7 separate regions of the Homo sapiens genome follow, and all the other regions are linked to region 2. Evidence: promoter capture Hi-C in 16 types of primary human blood cells and fetal thymus (Javierre and others, 2016). All regions are on one chromosome and are shown on one strand. The core of a region is centred on a gene start or on the middle of the fragment in contact, and the rest is flanking DNA. Distances in the headings are between cores, read along the strand shown. Region 1 has its middle 79 kb from the start of RPS23. Region 2 holds the start of COX7C (cytochrome c oxidase subunit 7C). Region 3 has its middle 3.3 kb from the start of RPS23. Region 4 has its middle 20 kb from the start of RPS23. Region 5 has its middle 9.7 kb from the start of ADGRV1. Region 6 overlaps ATG10 (autophagy related 10). Region 7 holds the start of LUCAT1 (lung cancer associated transcript 1).

Region 1 (2,700 bases), core at 28-2,527, 4.3 Mb after region 2:
AGCTGTCTGAACCACAAGGAAAAATAATCAGGCCTGAAGCCAGTGGGAGAATCATCATAACAGACAATACAACCCATTTGTTTAATGAAGAAAGAGTTAGGCAACCTACTAGAAACCACAGGCCTGATCTACATTTTTCAAACTTACGACCATGTCTAGAAAAGTTGCTTAACTCTTCTGTGCTCCATTCTTCCAATGCTCAGAGCTCCATGAGACTCACCTGGAGCTCCCATGTGACTCGATGCCTGCTCCACCTCTCCACACCTGCACAACTATCAAAATAACCAGCAAGGAAAGCTTTATTTAAAAAATGAAGATTCCTTGCCTTCACCCCAGGTCACATCCAGGCCTATGAAATGGGAAATCTGCCTGATGGGGCATTTTAACCAGGAGAATCTAAATGAGCAACCGAATTTAGAAATCACTAGGCGGGAACAGAAAGAGCAAACGCACAATCCAAGAACCACTTCTCCTACCCCTTTGTCCATGACAGACATTAATAATCAACATGAGCACTCTTTCCCTCAGAACGCAGCCAAAGCTCAGGAGGTCCAGGCAGCCACTCCCAGTCAATGAGAGTGGCTGGCTCACAAATTGAAACCTTTCTGCCATCCCTGAGTGAGAACCCAGCAGTCCACCAGTACTGTGTGTTCAGTCGCACATTTCACCCAGCATCTAGAACAGCTCAACGTATAATCCTTTTAGGTTTACAAAATCTTTTCAAACACCTGATCTTCTTTGAGCATCCCAGAAACCTTGTGAAGTTAAAAGGGTATGTATTATTATACCCACTTGACAGATTAAGAAACTGGGGGTCACATTAGTTCTTAATCTTGCCCAGGGTCAGATCGCTGATGAAGAGTAAGGACAGAAAATCCACCCAGATCTCCTGTCTCCTAGACCAGCATTCTTCCTTCTGTAACAAGCTGGGCATGGAGTATTGAGGGCAACATTACCACCTGAGCTTAGCAAAAAACAGACCATACAGCAAACAGTACAGAAGGGGAAGGTGGGCCAAAGAGGTTTAGTAAATTGACCAAGGTCACAAAGCCTTAAAACCAGCAAGCAAGAACCCCAAGCAGGTCTGTCTGATGAATCTCTGTTCTGTGCTCTTCCTGTTTAGATGGTGTGTCCTCCCAGATCAGCACAGACTAGGAAAGGGCCTTTCCTCTCCTCTCCCTGAGTTCACTCTGACACACCCTGCTCGTCTGGCCCTCCTCCCAGACTATTTCCCTTGTTTCCGCTGGTGTCATCCTCTCAGCCACACTCACCTCTCCACCACCCACCCCCCTTTTTGACCCTGCAACTTCCTTCCAAATGCAGGAGGAAACCGCCCAGCTTACTCACAAGGGCCCCAGCCAACAGACTGCAGATAAGACAAGCACCTTGGCAGCGAGACGTGAATATAAAATTGCAAACAGCTTTTGAAGTTACAGATCCGTAATCTTCTAAGCCAAAGAAGAGGGGTTCGCCTCTTCCCCCCGTCATCTGAATCAACACTCCAAAGGACTGAACTGAGTCCAGCCAGCTTCGGATGTGATCTCACAAGCCCGCCTGCCACACATGCATTTCCAGCCTGTCGCCTGAGCAAAACCCCCACGAGGCTTGTCACCACTTAACACAGGGGACATGTTTCTACAGAAATCAAAGCAAAGAGATGTGTTTTGCTGCCCTTTCATGTGGTCAAATACATCCTGACTGACCCGGTTATGCCCTTAGTTGAAGAAACTAAACACTTTCAAGTTTAGAAGGGAAGATGCTCAGGGTTTCTGGAAGACGGGCTGACTCACCTCTACTGCATAGTTGCCTGTAACCTTGGCCAAGTTACTTAATCTTTTTCATCTCAATTTTTCCATCTGTAAAATGGGACTCTACCAATGGCACTTTCCTTTAAGATTCTTGTAATTATTAAAATAGTTGGTTCACATAAAAAATGTAGGGCAATGATACACAGTCAACCATAAATATTTACCATCACTGTCATTTTAAAACAGAAACAAAAGATTTGAGGACGTATCCACATGACCTTTGGAATTTAGATGCATCCCAACAGGTCCCTGTTGTATTTTAGGTTCACAGTAAACAGGTTTTGATGATCAAACCTAAAACTCTGATGTTTCTGTCATTATTATTTTCAATGGAATGATTTGCATAGAATTAACAAAGAATTAACAAAAATTACCAAAATTTCTTTTAGAATTAAGTCAGCATGAGATAACACTGCTTGCTGAGATTATACATACTTCCTTTAAGCTTCTATATAGGATACATTTCTCCAAATTTTCTACAAAAAAGCATGCATTATTTTATCATTGGAAAAATTAAAATAATAGCACATAATAAGATGAAGCACATTATGCCTCGTAATGTATAAACATGGATATCTACAGGAAATGGCAATCAAAGCATAAATGAGTCCACTAAGGTTGCATCATGGCTTTCCCTACTGGCCCAATCGGACATTTTTTTTGGAAAGTTTTAGAGACCTAAGTCTCCACATCCAAATGGAAATGAGCCCCAGATATTACTCATATATTATTGGCAGTACTTTCTGCCCAGAGAATGGCAAAACAAAGAAATTTTTTTGCAAATGGAGGCCACCACCTGGATTTGTGAATGCATGAGCCTCAGCCACACGAGGCCTGTTTAGGGTTGATCTGCCAACTGCACAAAGACACACATACACACACGCACACATGC
Region 2 (2,725 bases), core at 127-2,626:
ATCTCAAATCATCTGCTTAATAATCAAAATACAAGTATACAGGAAATGCTAGTTATATTTTACATCATCAGGTTAACATATGCCATAAATCATAACATCGTTTTAAACATTTATCTTTCAAATCCTATGACCTTCATCACAAAACACTACATGGCAAGAAATAATCTGGCTTTACTAAGCACTAGGCAATGAATGGTCTTGAGGACTCAAACGTCAAATAGTGAGAAGTTTCTTACTTTAGAAAATCGAAAAAACTACTGTCCTAAGTAGTCACCTTAGAAGATACATGGCAATGTTAAGTGCAATACAGCTCTTTTTTTTTCTTTTTTTTTTTTTTTGAGACGGAGTCCCGCTCTGTCCAGGCTGGAGTGCAGTGGCCCGATCTCGGCTCACTGCAACCTCCACCTCCCGGGTTCAAGCGATTCTCCTGCCTCAGCCTCCCGAGTAGCTGGGATTAGAGGCACACACCACCACGTCCGGCTAATTTTTTTGTACTTTTTAGTAGAGACAGGGTTTCGCCATGTTGGCCAGGCTGGTCTGGAACTCCTGACCTCAGGTGATCCGAACGCCTTAGCCTCCCGATTACAGGCGTGCGCCACCGCACCTGGCCCACAGTTTTTTTTGTTTGTTTGTTTTTCATTACCAAGCACCTTCTCTGGCCTTTATGACTAGGCCTCGTGTGACCCTCCGAGATTGTTACTGCTATGTGGTTTAAGTTATTTACACCTGAGGCCAAACCCAGCCTTAACTGAGGTGAAGGGTTAGTACTTCTAACTTAGGCAGCTAGTTTAAAAAGCCTGTTCCATAACCAGAGGCCCTGATTTCCTCATGATTTTCCAATGACCTTCATTTCGGGTCCGATGACCTCCAGCTCGGATTTAACCAACACACCTACAGCCGTGGCCTCCCGGAGCCATCTCAGGGCTTTCTGCGGGGCGGGGGAGGGGGCGTCAGGTGGCTGATGGAGGCAGGGCTTCCGGATCTACCTGCCCATTCCTTTAGCGGCTACGCGCTAGGATGCCCAGCTTCCTCACTGGTCCTTGGGCTAAGTGGAATGCTAGTCTGCGTCTCAGCCTGGTTTCTGGCTATCATCTCCCACGCCACAGCCCGGAGGCGGCCTTGCAGGTGCGCGAGTCACAGCCAAGCGCCCCCTCCCCCAACGAAGCCGTGCCCCTTACACACTAACCTTCCCAGGGCCCTCCTCATAGTGGCTCCTACGGACCACAGAGGTTGTGAACCTCCGGATGCTCTGGCCCAACATACCGCTGCTGGAAGCTCTGCGAAAGGCGCAGAGAATGAGGACAGATGAAATGGCGGCACCTCACCAAGACCTTTTTTTTCACGACCTTGTTCCCCGGTGCGCAAGGACTGAAAAGAAAGATGGGAAATGGGGCGGAGCCTTGAGGAAACGCGACAAAGCGGAAATCGCCCTGGATTGTGGGAATTGTAGTTCAGACCATTGCGGAGCCTTATCAGCCCCCGAAGGATTGTGGGAAATGTAGTTTCGCGCCAGGCTTAGGTCTAGGATTCCTGGGGCCTGTTACCGGAAACGATTTTATTGAATCAAGTGAAGCAGTTTCACCCCGTATACTCTAGTCTGTTGAAAAGGACAATAAACCCATCCCTTTTCTCTTCTTTCTTTCTTTTTTAAAAATAAAGTATATGCTAGGTGTCAATGATTTCGAGGACTTTTGCCAATGCTGAGAGATATGTGCTAATGATCCTAGCTGAAGAAACAAAGCATAAACACAAGTAATCAAACAACGTGCAGCACAAAGGACTTCAGAGAGAAAACTGAAATGCTAAGGGAATGATCACTAAAGATAATGGGAATCGAATAAAAAAGAAGGAAGAACAAAGGGCAGGGAAAACTCAAGTCTGGTATGAGTACAGCATGTGTGAGGAGTAGAAGGGAAAAGTGGCCTCTGACACCTGGAGCTAGCCTGGACTAGGAACTGGTGTCCGCCTGATGAACGTACACAATTTCAGCAAGCATTAGCATCCAACAAGACCACTCTGACAGTGTTCATTAAGAAAAGAATATGATCACTGTGTAATCACATCTGAACACAGATAAAACATTGTCCAAGCCACGAAAATGACCGGACATCACCCTATCTGGTTTAATTTGATGACTTCTGCTTCTTTACCAATTACAATCTTAGCCTTGATCTAGCCTTTCTTCCTCCTAAGATTTGGTAAGGTAGCCAATATTAGGAGAAAAAAATCCCAAATCCAATAAGCATTTTCTAATATTTTACAGAGAACCCTTACTGCAATGAATAATAAACCCCGTTTGTCAATTACATGTGTGCTTCTGGTGGTCTTTGACCAGAAGGTATTGAGAAGAAACCAGTGATAAATGAACCTGGGAAAGTGGTGTTAGGTTAGATTGTGAAAGGCCCTGGTAACCTAAATGTTATGTTATTCATCTGTGGGGGAGTGTATATTGCCTCACGTGTCTCATTTATATAGCATTAGGAAACAATTCCAATAAGACCTAAGGTTTGCTTTGAAAAGGGCATAACATATATGCTCTTTTCGTCTTTTTTTTTTTTTTTTTTTTCAGTTTTTGGAAGAGAACAACCATGCCCCTCCCCCCCAAAAAAACACTTAAAAAAAACACTTAAATTCATATTTTGTTTCAACAAGTAGCTTCTTTTTGAGTAGGGGTTCATGAAATGCATCATAACTGGTGTCCTCTACCACCTAATTTATAGAAGTT
Region 3 (2,973 bases), core at 94-2,593, 4.3 Mb after region 2:
TCCCGAGTAGCTGGGACTACAGGCAGACGCGACCATGCCCAGCTAATTCTTTTTTTCTTTGTATTTTTAGTAAAGAGATGGGGTTTCACTATGTTGGCCAGGCTGGTCTTGAACTCCTGACCTCAAGTGATCCACCTGCCTCAGTCTCCGAAAGTGCTAGGATTACAGATGTGAGCCACCATGGCTGGTCTATTCCTGTCCTTTGTCATGTTTTCTCACTGTATTATTTGTTCTTTTATATTATTCTGTAGAAGGGATTTTTTTGTTTGTTTCTTTTGAGACAGAGTCTCACTTTGTTGCCCAGGCTGGAGTGCAATGGAGCGATCTCGGCTCACTGCAACCTCTGCCTCCTCAGTTCAAGCGATTTTCCTGCCTCAGCCTCCTGAGTAACTGGGATTACAGGCATGCGCCACCACACCCGGCTAATTTTTGTATTTTCAGTAGAGAGGGGGTTTCACCATGTTGGCCAGGCTGGTCTCGAATTCCTGACCTCACGTGATCCCCCTGCCTCGGCCTCCCAAAGTGCTGGGATTACAGGTGTGAGCCACCACGCCCGGCCAGAAATTTTTTAAAATATTAATCCTTTGTAAGTTTTGTGGCTATGAATAGCAATTCTCAGTATGGAACTTGTCTTTTCACTTTCTTTCAGATGTTTTTGATGAATAGAGGGTCTTAATTTTAATATGATCAAATTTATCATTCTTGTCATGTGTAGAAACATTTTCCTTTCCTAAGTTCAAAAAGATATTCACCTTTGTTCTCTATTAAGAATTTCAAAGTTTTCTTGTTGATATTTAAGCCCTTAATTTATCCAGAGTTGATTTATGCTTTCAGTGTAAGACAGTGACACAATTTCATTGAGTAATCACTTTTTGTGTGGCTCCATCTTTTTTAAATATTATTTTTAAATTATTTATTCTTTAACAAAATCTGTGTATATTTATGGTTTACAACATATTTTAAATATATATGTACATTGTACAATGGTTAAATAGAGCTAACTAACATATGCATTACCTCAAATACTTTTGTATCATTTTTCTGTGGTGAGAACACTTAAAATCTATTCTTTTAGCAATTTTCAATATAAACTTTGTTATTTATACAGTTGACCCTTGAACAACATGGGGGTTAGGGATGCTGACCTCCCCACACAGTAGAAAATCTGTGTATAACTTCCGACTTTCCGAAAACTTAACTACTAATAGCCTACTGTTGACTGGAACTCTTACTGATAACATAAACAGCCTATTAACACATATTTCATGTTACGTGTATTACATACCATATTCTTACAATAAATTAAGCCACAGAAATGAATGTTAATAACAAAATTAGAAAGAAGAGAAAATTTATTTACTACTCATTAAATGGAAATGGATCATCATAAAGGTCATCACATTGAGTAGGCTGAGGAGGAGGAAGAGGAAGAGGAGTTTTTGCTTTCTCGGGGTGTCAGAGGCAGAAGAAAATCTGCCTGTATGTGGACCCACACAATTCAAACCCATATTGTTTGTGGGTCAACTGGAGTCACCATGTTATTCAACAAGTCTCTCGAAAATTTTCTCCTCCTGTCAAACTAAACCTTTGTATCCTTTGACCAACAGCTCCCCAGATCCCCCAAACTCCCACGCCCACCATTCTACTCACTGCTTCTATCCGTTCAAAATTTTTAGATTCCACATATAAGTGTAAACATGCAGTATTTGTGAATCTGAAGAAATACACATAACTCACTGATGTCACTTCATAAACACAGATTTCAAATGGGCTCTCAGAACTGCTCAAAAAACCTATTTTCTTGTCAATGCATTTTCCTACCATTCTAGATTAGGAGGCAGTATAAGAGGGGTCAAATACAAGATTCTAAAACCAGATTACCTGGGTTAAAATCTTACTTCTACCACTTACTAAATACGTGATCTTGGGGAAGTTAAACTCACCAAAGCCTCAGTTTTTGTATATCTATCCCTCAGTAAAATTATCGTTATCTGTCCCTCAGTAAAATTCCTTATGAGAATAAAATGAGTTAATAAATATAAGCCAAAAATAGAATCTGGCACATAGTAAATACTATCTAATGCTTATATTGTTATCATTGATGATGATTTCACATCTTACCTTCTCTCCTCAAACCTTTTTCTCCCACTCTTTCTCTTCACTGATGGCCTTGCTTTTTATTTCATTGAAAAAATTGAAAAAGTAAGTCAAAAGTGAAGAAGTTCCACAACTTCCTATCATCAAATCTTCCAATTTACTTGCAGCTGTACCTGTCACTCTACTACCATACATAAACTGTTATTGTTCCTACAGTTAACTCCTCCACTTGGGTACCCTTCTAGTCTACTTAAGGAGTTGCTCCTGCAATTATCCCTTCTCTGCTGAATAACCCATTTTTAATTTTCTCAACCTGATCAGCATACAAAAATGTCATAAAAGTTGCCATCTTAAAAATAAAACCCTCCAACTCCACATTCCCCTCCAAATAGGGTGCCATTTCTCTGCACATAAAAAATGTCTTTCAAAAATTGTCTATAGTTGCTGTCTAGACTTCCTTCCCTCCCATATTCTCTTCACTCCGATCCCATCGCCTTTCACTTTCAGTACTCCATGGAGTCCCCATTTGACAAAGTGACCAGTAATCTCCACATTTTCAAGTCCAAAAGGCAATTCTCAGTCCTCATCTTATCTCTTTTCACACTTTCTCACTCCCTTCTTCACTTGGCTTTGAACAGAGTGTAACATTGGCCACTCTTTCTTCATCTGTTTTGCTTCACCTGCCTTCTCTTCTGTACCACTAAACTTTGGTGTGCTCAGGACTCTAATCTCTGTTCTACCTACAGTCATCACCTAAGCTATCTCAACTAGAGCCACAGTTTTAATACTATTTATTCATTGATTACTCCTCAGCTTCTTATCATATATCCAACTGTCCACTTCACATCCCTGGATGTTTGACAGTTCAAACTTAAC
Region 4 (2,776 bases), core at 1-2,500, 4.3 Mb after region 2:
TATGTGAAAAGAATTAAGACTATGCATGTTTTGAAATTGCAACTACAAAAAGGCCATTTTTAACTCAAGGGAAAAAGAAACGTTGCACAAAAAAAAAAAAAAAAAAAAAAAGAAAGAAAGAAACAAAATTACACTCTACTAACTAGCTTGTCTGTGAACAATATACATAGTCATATTGACGCAAGCACTGATGAACTGAAAGTAGTAATGTAACTATATTGGAGGGATGGGGGGTGGAGGAAAGAAAGATGAGGACATTGAAGACAGGAACTTTGTCAATAATAAAGGAACTTGTTATAAAATCTAACATGTATAAATGGAGAAATCACCTATGCATATTATTTTGATATTATGGCAGTATGGTGAATTGTATGATTGTTACCCAGTCTTTGTTTCCTTCTCTGGGAGAGGATTTTGCATCCCCCTAGGGCATATGACTTGCAGTTCCTCCCTGTGGGTGGAAAATACTTCCTGCCCCATCATCAGGCTTAGCTATTATATGAACAGCAGACGAGGAAATACTGGATAGAAGGGGGCAGTTCCTGGCAAAGGCCCCACCCTTAAGCCTGGAAACCCACGGCCCTAAATGGGAACAGGCATTCCTGTTTCTGCACCCCAATGTTGCCTTTTGGCCCACCAGGGCCCCCTATCCAGTACCCATATAAACCCCAAACCCCAGGCTCCACAAGCAGATGAGCAGATGAACAGGTGAACAGAAGAGCAGCAGAACAGCATGACAGAGAAGAGAGACGAGAAGCAGCATCTGAACATCTAGAGGAGTTTGGCTGGGGACAGTCAGAGAGGAGATCAGCTGCTGAACAGCCAAACTCCAGGGGAAGATCATCCCCCAATCCATCACCCTTCCAGCTCCCCATCCAGCCTGCTGAAAGCCACCTCCACCACTCAGTATAACCCCCACATTCACCATCCTTCCAGCCCTGTGTGACCTGATTCTTCCTGGATGCCAAACAAAAACCCGGGGTCCAAGAGGGCACTAAGCTGGTTAACACTTAAGCTGTCTGAAGATGGCAGAGCTAAAAGAGCACTGTAGCACACCCACTGGGGCTTTGAGAGTCACAGGAACCCAAGCCTAGATGCTACCATGAGGCCAGAACCCAAAATCACTTGCCCTGGTTCCTGCACCTGCCCATCTGCATGCTCCCCTTCTTGTAAAAGGTTTGAGCACATGTGGCAGTGGCCAAACAGATGCACCACACCCCTGTTGCATGTCCTGCAAGGGGGGTCACGGAACTCTCCAGTTTCAGCTATACATCTTAATTAGACCAATGGAATATGGGCAGAAGCAACAGTGTGGCAGTTCTGCAGAAGTTGCGAGTGTCTGCATGTGCCTGCCATCTCTTGCCCCACTCCCTCTGTCATAAGAATGGCATGCCCAAATAGGGGCTGCTCTTTCAGTCTGGGACTTGGAATGAGAAGTGGAAACAGAGCTAAAGCAGGGTCACAGCAGCCCGCCTGTAGCTGTCAGAAGTAAGAGGAGCAAGAAAGAAATGTTTGAGGCTGCAAACTTCTGCAATGTAGGGGTTGTTTTGTTTCTAGAAAAAAGGTGACTAATACAAGCAGTGGCCAACAGAAGAAACAACTAAAAATTTGAAAATGTTTGCCTATAGAAGTAACTAGAAGACAATTTTTCCTTTAATGTGTCTTGTCACCTTTTGATTTTTTGAAACCATGTACATGTATTACTTTGATAAATTTTTCTATTTTAATTTTTTAAAAAGATGTCTTCCTTTAGAAATTTATAAATTAGCATTACGGTTTATATTAAGTCTCTTGTGAGTACAAGTTTAATTTCCTGAGCAACAAAAGTGAGGTTCCCATCCAAGTAATAATGAAATTATAATAGAGATATGCTTTAGCCAAATCATCTAACCTACCTAAACTCCAGACTTTGTAGTACAGGTTAAAACGTAACTGAATACAATATATGAAAGAGGCACGAATACCCAGACATTACCCAGGCAGACTTCGGCCTGCCAGCTGTGCTTGCCTTATTTCACCTCTTCCCTTCTCTCTCTGCTTCCGCTACTCTAGCATTATTCAGTTCCTTGAACACTTCATGGTCCATTTTTCCCTTAGCACCTGCTGGTCCCTCCACCTGGAATGTTCTCCATCCTCCTAGTTATTTTCTACATCTCCTCCAGATGATGGCGTAAGTGTCACTTCCTCAGGAACACAATCCCTAACTTGTGCAAGTTCCAATCCCCCTGTTGTATGTGCTCATTGCTTCCTATACTTTTCTTTCACAACACATTTCAAAGTTTATTTGGAATAATATATATCATTTGATTAACAAGGGCTTCCCTATTAGACTTAGTCCGTGAGGCCAGGGACTATCCCTGTTGTGCTCACCATTGTAGACCCAGCATCTAGCATGGGGCCTTGCTACTTAAAAGCACCAATTATTTTTAAAATGTGTTGCATGCACAAATGAACTAAGAAATTGATGAAAATACTCTGAAATCAAAGTGGAAAATGGGAGGTCACACAGGATTTCTTTTTGGATCAAGAATAAACCCAACTTGAGGAAGAAATGTGCAAAGTGAGAATAATGACCCCTACTCACTCTATGTTTAGAAACCGTGTATCGAGCTTAAACTACAATCCTCCTTCCTACAGACAGAATATTGAATAGCCCCAGGGAGTTGAAAGATATTTTAAATTTCAGATCCATTATTTGAAAGAACACACAAAACAACAACTGTTGTTTCCTTCATAATGAATTAATGAGCCATAATATTAGATTCAAATGATCATT
Region 5 (2,700 bases), core at 9-2,508, 3.9 Mb before region 2:
GGGCAACAGAGCGAGATCCCATCTCCTCCCCACTCCCTGACCACCACTAAAAAAAAAAGAAAGAAAGAAAAGAAAAGCTGGGGAAGATTTTGGAAAATTGAGAGGAGTAAGTCCTTCTGGAAGGTATAAAGCAGAAGAGCAGAAAGATTTCAAGAGCTCAAAAATAGCTCCAGGGAGACATGACACCACACTTTCCCAGAAAGGAGTTAAGGTGTGAGCAGCATCTCAAGCCTTGGTTGGTTCTATTTGGACAAGGTAGGCCCACTGAAAGCTGCTTCTCAAAAAGCTTCATGGAGTGACCCAGAGGGAAGAATCTGAAGTGCGTCTAGGAGTCTGGTCTCCACATTTTCCTGTCTTGCCAAGGCCTTTGGATCTTATCTAGACTATGTGTGGGTTATCTAGTGGTGACAAATTTATCATAATTTATTATGACTATTTTGAAATCTTTAATGTGATGTGACAAAATCTTCTCTGTAAATGATTTCTTCCCTATATAGATGAAGTATACAAAAAGTAGTTCCTCTTTAAGACTGAGATGTTTGATAAGCCAGCAGTCAACCCAGATCCTCACAGACAACAGAAGTTGAGGTGCCATTTTAGAAGCTGAAACCACAAGCGTGATAACAAACAAACCCAACAAAAAAGGCTTTTCTCTTTGCTTCTTCATGTGAAATTAATACTTCACTTTTTTTGTACTTGTTTATCTTTCTCTTTTCTAAATTTTTTTTTATTTTTATACTTTAAGTTTTAGGGTACATGTGCACAATGTGCAGGTTTGTTACATATGTATACATGTGCCATGTTGGTGCACTGCACCCATTAACTCTTCATTTAACATTAGGTATATCTCCTAATGCTATCTAAATTTTTATACTCTCATGAAATGTTCTAAAATTAATAAGTAAAATACAAATGATAAATTAAGTATTATCTTCATGTTCTACTGCAAATATTTTAAATCTTTACCTTCCTAAGTTAAAAATGTTTTTTTCAAGAAGTCTATTTATAGAACATGATGTCTGAGACTTTGTGATATCAGTCACTAGTATGGTTTCTATTTCTAAAGCCATAGAATAGCAAAAATAAAAACATTTAATATGGTTAGGTCCAGATGATGTCAAGAGATCATATAGTGTAGATAGGTGGAGTGAACTTAGATTAATTTATTAACCTTTCACATTTTAGTTTCCTTATCTGCAAAATAGAGAGTCTCCTAGGACTCATTGCTCAGGCTTGTGTGTGGATTGAATGAGATAGTGAAGTCTGCTACATAGTGAGATTTTAATAACTGACAAACAGAAAAACAGCAAAATAAAACAAAACAGTTATTGCCTACTCTAGTTGTATTTTAGCTGCAATTGAGACAGTTTTTCTTCTCAGTTAACCAATTCAATATTGAAAAAACTACAGTGTTAATTATACATAAATAAAGTTAACAAATACATAATCGCATATATAATAGCAATTTCCCACTAAAAGTTTTAAAATAACATCTTTTCATTGATGTGAATTGCTCCTGCTTTTAATATATCTTGATATACTTTATACTAATAAAGAAAAGAACACATATGTAATTCCTAAGTAGCTCCATCAAATGAATATTAAGATCAAGTAATATCCAAGTATACATATTACTTTCCGACATTTATTTCCTTACAAATCTAAATATATGCAGCAGTAATAGTATGTGATTACACATATTGTATTTTTTTTTTACTGGCCACATGTAATACTTTATTACATTATTCAGTAAAAGACGAATTGAGTAGAATTTATGTCCTATGGGAAATATTTTAAATCTGTATTTCCAAGCTAAAAATATTTTATCCTACAAAGTATGTTTACAAAACATTTACAGAGAATGCTGTCTGAGACTTTAAAATCAATAATAGTTTCTATTTCTTAGCAAGAAGCACATCTCAGAGCAGTTTTTCTCACATTTTAAAAGGAATTCCTCCATAAATCAAACATAAATGTATATCCAGTTTTTAACTTTTTGAGAACAGCTAATTAAATCTGTTTTTCACCCCCAGTTGCCTCTGGTTTAGGCACGCTGTGTGTGGCACTTCCCATGGTTTGTCATTTTGCTTTAATGGCAGGGGGAGGAAGCCAGCCAGGCTCAGTAAGCACGCTGCATATCAAAATGTCGCCATGGCAGCGTTTGTCCACTTGTCAGAGTCCTTCTGAAATGACTCAGCCATTCATTTTGTTGAATCAATATTGAAGCTTTTGAGATTTATTACTTGAGGTTTGGGAGGAGACAAGGCAAACAAATCCTTCATTCCTAACTTCGAGTTCCAGTTGAGCCAAGATTATTATTTCTGTCTACACTTTATTTATGAGGATAGAATATAAGGTTTCCACTCCTTGCATAATTATCTTATAATAAGCTTGCATTTACATTCCAGAGACTACAGTAAAAAAGAATTTAAATTTTCCAGAAATATTCTGTGGGCTGTGGTAAACTTATCCAACGATGAGTTCAAACAGTTAATTTCCTGGGAGGTATGTGAGGGGGGGATGGAGATGAGGGGACGGTATAAATCTTTTGGTACAAAATCTTTAAATCTATGATATAAAACATATTAAATTCCACTTCTATATATAACGTATCTTGAAACAGAAGTAACAAGAAGCATGTTATCTACCAAACCTTTCTATTTATTAATAATCACTTCCATGCATTAATGCCTTCACCAT
Region 6 (2,879 bases), core at 5-2,504, 4.6 Mb after region 2:
AGCCTTACTTGGATCATTCCAGTAAAAGTCAGTGGTTAGAGGTTAGTTGATGGTTTCTGATTGGTTAAGCTAAAGTTTCATTTTCCTAGAATACAACCATTTACACTGAGTTTGGTGTAAGTCTGTTTATGTAGGAACCCAGGGCACTGGAGCTTCCTCAGGCAATGGCCTCCCAATTAATTATTTTAACACAGGAAGCTGTTTTTGCTGGGCAATAAATATGTTTCCTTCTTTCCTTTGACCACCATGAAGCTTGGAACTTTGTGGCCTACCTTTAATAACTGTACAACAGGCCGGGCGCAGTGGCTCACGCCTGTAATCCCAGCACTTTGGGAGGCCGAGGCGGGCGGATCACGAGGTCAGGAGATCGAGACCATCTTGGCTAACACGGTGAAACCCCGTCTCTACTAAAAATACAAAAAAAAAAAAAAATTAGCCGGGCAAGGTGGCGGGCGCCTGTACTCCCAGCTACTCGGGAGGCTGAGGCAGGAGAATGGCGTGAACTCGGGGGCCGGAGCCTGCAGTGAGCCGAGATCACGCCACTGCACTCCAGCCTGGGCGACAGAGTGAGACTCCATCTCAAAAAAAAAAAAAGATAAAATAAATAAATAAATAAATAACTCTACAACATTCACAGTATATTTTCAGTATAACTCACCCTAATCACATCTTTCTATTCAAGCTTCATATTTTTATGATCTTGATTCTCTTTATTTTGTATGTTATTATATATTATATAGTTTAAGCTACCTCAAATACTTTTGGAACAAAATTGAGTTTAAATTTAAAACTCTAAGCTACAAAAGTACAATAAAAAACAAAAAAGAAAAAGAAAACTAGATAGTAAGATGGGAAGAAAAAAATATTACACTGAGCCCCCAAATCATCCTGAGAGGTCTGAGACACTTTTTTTTTTTGAGAGGGGGGTCTCACTATGTCACCCAGGTTGGAGGGCAGTGATACCATCTCAGCTGACTGCAACCTCCACCTGCCAGGCTCAAGCAATCCTCCCGCCTCAGCCTCTTGAGTAGCTGGGACCACATGTGTGCACCACCATGCACAGCTAATTTTTTGTATTTTTTGTAGAGACAGGGTTTTGCAATGTTGCCAAGGCTGGTCTCAAACTCCTCAGCTCAGGCAATTTGCCTGCCTCAGCCTCCCAAAGTGCTGAATCACAGGCATGAACCACTGTACCCAGCCTTGGTTTAAGAGACTTTCAAAAAGAAGTATAATACAGTCTTTGCCTTCAATAGTTTGTAACCAAATATTTTTTTATTTTTCAGAATACACATTCTTCTCAAAGTAATCAAATTTTTAAGTAAAGATTCACATTGAAAAGAACATCAGAGAATAATGGATAACAAAAAACAGTGATAAATTGTACAACCACTGTTTAAAGAATTAGTATGGATTAAAATAATTAAAATTGCATATATTACTATGTATTAAGAACTAGTAACAAATCCTCAGAGCAACTTTTTGAGGTAAATTACTAGGATTTTCTTTATTTTATAGATAAGGAAATTGAGACAGAGAGGGTAACTTGTCCAAGGTAACACAGCTGTTAAGTGTAGTAATTTGACCTAAGGAAGTCTGGAACCAGAGCCTGGGCCCTACAGTAGTTAGATTTCAGTTAATCCTTGAATTATAGGAGGATATAGAAAGAAAGAAATAGAAGGGATGGGGCAGTGGCAGTGAACCTTGGAACAGATTGAAATGAGGTAGACCAGTAAAGAACCTGAATGGAGAGTATAGATTGAGGGATATTGAGAATCTGGGGACAGGGTGCAGGAAGTTTACAGTCTTAAAACTCAAAGGAAGCTTGGAGACATAGCTCTCGCCTTTAGTCCTCACTACTCAGGAGGCTGAGGCAGGAGGGCTGCTTGAGCCAGGAGTCACGGCTGTGTAGTGCCTTCTAATTGTGCCTCTAAATAGCCACTGCACTCCAGCCTGGGCAACTTAGAGACCCCACTTCTTAAAAAACCAAAAGAAGAAACCAAAAAACCCAAAGGAGATTCCATTTAAAACAATTGGCAATAGGAAACCAGTGTAGGTTCTTGAGCTCAGAAGAGATGATAAAAAGGTTTTCTCAGAAAGATGTTACATGACAGTGATATGAAATAACCCTAGCTTCAAAGCTACACTCCTATTACTAAGCCCTCTTCCTGGATCCTATAAAACTATGTGATCAGGTAAGCACATTAGAGAAGTCTTGTCTCTGCAGTTTTCAGCAACCATTCCCTAATTAAGATTCCTTCAGGTACAGCTTATTCTCCTATTCTCCATTCCCCAACTTTCTAATTGCTTTATTATACTCAGGCTGCTTGTCCCCTGAAAACATTTGTTTTCAATAGATAATCACCAAATGATCTCCATGGCTTTTTTTTTCTTAAGGTTCCCTGATTATATTTATGATTCAAACACAACCTCCTGGGTCCCAAACACATCTCTAGGTTTCAAAGATAATCAAATCAAGCCCATCTTAAGAAATCTTCTGTAAGCTTTACTCTCCTTGTTTTTCCTAAAGGGCTGCTTTACCTTTCTCAGAAATGTATTAGGCATCAGGAACTACTGTCGACATGTAGTTTGTCACAAAACATTATACATAACTTGAATGGCCCACCATGTACCAAAATCTCAGTTAACCTTATCCTAAATAAAACAGGAGACAAGGGAAATAATCTTTTAACACTCCACATTCAAATGTATGCAATTTAGAACTACTATTTCCACTAATTTCTTCAATTTAAAATATCAATAACAATTTTTAAACTCTGCAATTTGCAAGACTTTAATTTTAATTTCTCAATACTCAGGATTTATTTTTTGGTCAAAGTTCTGTAACATTTCCTCTGGTCACTGTTTAACCTTTCTGAAGC
Region 7 (2,730 bases), core at 168-2,667, 4.7 Mb before region 2:
CCTGTCACCATTTATCTGCCAGGGACAAAAACAAAGAAACAAACAGAAGTAAGCCGATATCAAGTAGAAAAAAAAGCAAAACAAGTTAAGATTCTATTATGCTAGGAAGGTAGGTATAGATAAGTTCCTATAGGACCCTAATGGTCAGGATATTGAATTTCGACTTTATCCTGAAGACAATAGGGAGTCTTTGATATGGAGACAGACTAGAAATGTAAAATCAGTCTCTACATTTCAGAAACAAGGCTGAGTGCCGTGGCTCATGCCTAGAATCCCAGCACTTTGGAAGGCCGAGGCGAGCGGATCACTTGAGGTCAGCAGTTTGAGATCAGCCTGGCCAACATGGCGAAACTTCGTTTCTACTAAAAATACAAATAGCCAGGTGTGGTGGCAGGCGTCTGTAATCCCCGGTACTCAGGAAGCTGAAGCAAGAGAATTGCTTGAACCCAGGAGGCAGAGGTTGCACTGAGCCAAGATCACACCATTGCACTCCAGCCTGGGCAACAGAGTGAGACTCAGTCTCAGTAACAAAATCTAGGCTGGGCGTGGTAGCTCACGCCTGTAATCCCAGCACTTTGGGAGGCTGAGGTGGGCGGATCACCTAAGGTCAGGAGTTCCGGAGCAGCCTGGGCAACATGGTGAAACCCCGTCTCTACTAAAAATGCAAAAATTAGCTGGGTGTGGTGGCATGCGCCTGTAGTCCCAGCTACCAGGGGAGGCTGAGGCAGGAGCATCACTTGAACCCGGGAGGTGGAGGTTGCGGTGAGCCAAGATCACACCACTGTACTCCAGCCTGGCTACAGAGTGAGACTCCATCTCAAAAAAGAAAAAAAAAAAAGAAAATCTATTGACAAGATTGACAAGAGTTCATTTTAAAGATGATTCTCTACACTTGGAGCATGGGATCTTGCCTGTCAGCAATTTTCAGCCGTCTCCAGATTAGTAACTGTGACTTGCCACCCTGGTTGATGGGCTGGCAGGAAGGAGTGTGTCATATCAGAGATTGCCACAGACACCCAGGGCAATGTGATTTGTCACTTAAAGAGGACGGCAGATCAAGAGCATCTCATCCTCCGGCTGCTGAGTCATCCTGCTCTGGCAGTTATTTAAACAGAAGGCTCCAGGAGACATACAATCAACACTCCACTCAGACAATGCCCAGACCTCCAGAAACCATGTGTCAAGCTCGGATTGCCTTAGACAGGTGCAATTTAAGAACAGCTTTCATCCTCTTTTCTCTCATATTGTCACACTATGTGTTCTGACTTCTGGCTCCTTTCCTCACAAGAAGCTCACCCAGCTGGAACTCTTATGGGACCTTGGCACCAGAGACCACAAATTCCTCTTTGAAGTTTTCTAACAGCAACAATGGTATTTCTGACTTGGCTTTCTTGTATTTCTCTCACGTTAACAAAATTGGTTCAGCATCTACCATGGGCTACATGCTGAGCTACAGGTAAGGTTTGGCTAAAGGATGAATAAGAACCCCTCCTTGTCTTCAGGAGTTTGTCTAGCAGAGGAGTCTGTCATGTAATCAGGAAACTCCAGTACACAACGTGATAGCTCTAAGACAGGTATATACAAGATGATGTTCTGGACCTTAACTGTTTGGGGAGTACTACTGCCTTTGTCTAAAAGCCATCACCCTTTTTATATGCCATTTGGGAGGAACTGGGGGGACGTGGGAGGCTTCAAAGGGTTATGGGAGGATGGACATTTTAAAAGGGCTTTTCTTTTCTTTTTTTTTTTTTGAGACAGAGTTTCGCTCTGTCGCCCAGGCTGGAGTGCAGTGGCGCGCGATCTCGGTTCACTGCAAGCTCCACCTCCCGGGTTCACGCCATTCTCCTGCCTCAGCCTCCTGAGTAGCTGGGACTACAGGCGCCCGCCACCACACCCAGGTAATTTTTTGCATTTTTAGTAGAGACGGGGTTTCACCGTGTTAGCCAGGATGGTCTCGTTCTCCTGACCTCATGATTCACCCGCCTTGGCCTTCCAAAATGCTGGGATTACAGGCGTGAGCCACTGTGCCCTGCCAAAGGCCTTTTCAAATCTAACGATGTACTCACATTTCCACCTGTCTGCCAGCCCTTGTCCAGTTTGACCTGGGCACTCACTGCTGCTCTGGTGGTGAGTACTGCTGATGGTTCTTTTCCCTGCCCATCCTTGAGGTGCTCGCTTCAATATGTCAAATGAGGACTCTCATTACATTTGGCTGTCATACATCAGCCACAACTGTCCTGCCCAGAAGAGCTGGCCTTGGCTTTAAAGCCTACATCCTGGCTGACCTTCTTTACTGCTTTATTAAGGAATCCAACTTGCTGTTTGCTATCACATGTGCTATACATGCTGTTGATGAAACTGCTAAAGGGGCTGAATGTGACTGACGTCTTTGGAAGGATGAGACTTAGCGTGCCTGTACAGTTGTGTCCAAATGCTGTCCTCATCTCCCAATGAAAAGGTATTGTAAATAAAGAGAAAGATCAGAGGCTTATTTTAAACACTAAATATGAGCTAGGAGCTGTCCTAGACACTATGTAAAAGTTTTATTTAGTTCTCACTGTAATGTTGGCCTTATGTTAGCATCCCATTTTTCAGACTGAGGAAATTATGGCTCAGAGAGGTTAAGAGACTTATTGAAGGTCACACAGCTCCACAAACTTTGGTGTAGATTGAACGTGTACATGGGTCTATGTGACTTTGAATCTTGCATTCTTTACATTATTGGAATAT

The links. Contacts are between HindIII fragments. The CHiCAGO score rates a contact against its expected background, and 5 or more counts as called.
Region 1: a contact is called between a fragment that was not itself captured here and the fragment with the promoter of COX7C in region 2, in 5 of 17 cell types (total CD4 T cells, naive CD8 T cells, total CD8 T cells and 2 more). The highest score is 11.2, in total CD4 T cells.
Region 3: a contact is called between a fragment that was not itself captured here and the fragment with the promoter of COX7C in region 2, in 9 of 17 cell types (non-activated CD4 T cells, total CD4 T cells, activated CD4 T cells and 6 more). The highest score is 18.5, in non-activated CD4 T cells.
Region 4: a contact is called between a fragment that was not itself captured here and the fragment with the promoter of COX7C in region 2, in 1 of 17 cell types (non-activated CD4 T cells). The highest score is 5.3, in non-activated CD4 T cells.
Region 5: a fragment that was not itself captured here is called in contact with the fragment with the promoter of COX7C in region 2 in 1 of 17 cell types (total B cells); the score reaches 7.8 in total B cells.
Region 6: a contact is called between a fragment that was not itself captured here and the fragment with the promoter of COX7C in region 2, in 1 of 17 cell types (non-activated CD4 T cells). The highest score is 6.3, in non-activated CD4 T cells.
Region 7: a contact is called between a fragment that was not itself captured here and the fragment with the promoter of COX7C in region 2, in 1 of 17 cell types (total CD4 T cells). The highest score is 7.1, in total CD4 T cells.

Annotation. Positions count from the first base shown.
Region 1 is chr5:82,356,044-82,358,743 of GRCh38, reverse strand. No RefSeq gene overlaps it. Among named protein-coding and RNA genes, the nearest start is that of RPS23, 79 kb to the right of the region's middle. RefSeq lists an enhancer at 958-2,157. The HindIII fragment of the contact is 1,956 bases long and covers 300-2,255 here.
Region 2 is chr5:86,616,592-86,619,316 of GRCh38, reverse strand. It overlaps COX7C (cytochrome c oxidase subunit 7C), which reads right to left and starts at 1,376. Exons shown (of 3, transcript NM_001867.3): 1 at 1,187-1,376. The coding sequence starts at 1,261. RefSeq lists enhancers at 286-951, 1,249-1,338, 1,271-1,565, 952-1,617, 1,629-1,708. The HindIII fragment of the contact is 5,230 bases long and covers 1-2,725 here.
Region 3 is chr5:82,280,160-82,283,132 of GRCh38, reverse strand. It overlaps the pseudogene ATP6AP1L. Among named protein-coding and RNA genes, the nearest start is that of RPS23, 3.3 kb to the right of the region's middle. The HindIII fragment of the contact is 5,869 bases long and covers 1-2,973 here.
Region 4 is chr5:82,296,531-82,299,306 of GRCh38, reverse strand. It overlaps the pseudogene ATP6AP1L. Among named protein-coding and RNA genes, the nearest start is that of RPS23, 20 kb to the right of the region's middle. The HindIII fragment of the contact is 3,110 bases long and covers 1-2,776 here.
Region 5 is chr5:90,547,787-90,550,486 of GRCh38, reverse strand. No RefSeq gene overlaps it. Among named protein-coding and RNA genes, the nearest start is that of ADGRV1, 9.7 kb to the left of the region's middle. The HindIII fragment of the contact is 1,940 bases long and covers 289-2,228 here.
Region 6 is chr5:81,973,721-81,976,599 of GRCh38, reverse strand. The region is part of intron 1 of ATG10 (autophagy related 10); the gene reads right to left. Among named protein-coding and RNA genes, the nearest start is that of ATG10, 3.1 kb to the right of the region's middle. The HindIII fragment of the contact is 1,139 bases long and covers 685-1,823 here.
Region 7 is chr5:91,312,806-91,315,535 of GRCh38, reverse strand. It overlaps LUCAT1 (lung cancer associated transcript 1), which reads left to right and starts at 1,134. Exons shown (of 5, transcript NR_103548.1): 1 at 1,134-1,456; 2 at 1,759-1,898; 3 at 2,307-2,458. RefSeq lists enhancers at 835-1,622, 510-1,709. The HindIII fragment of the contact is 2,842 bases long and covers 1-2,730 here.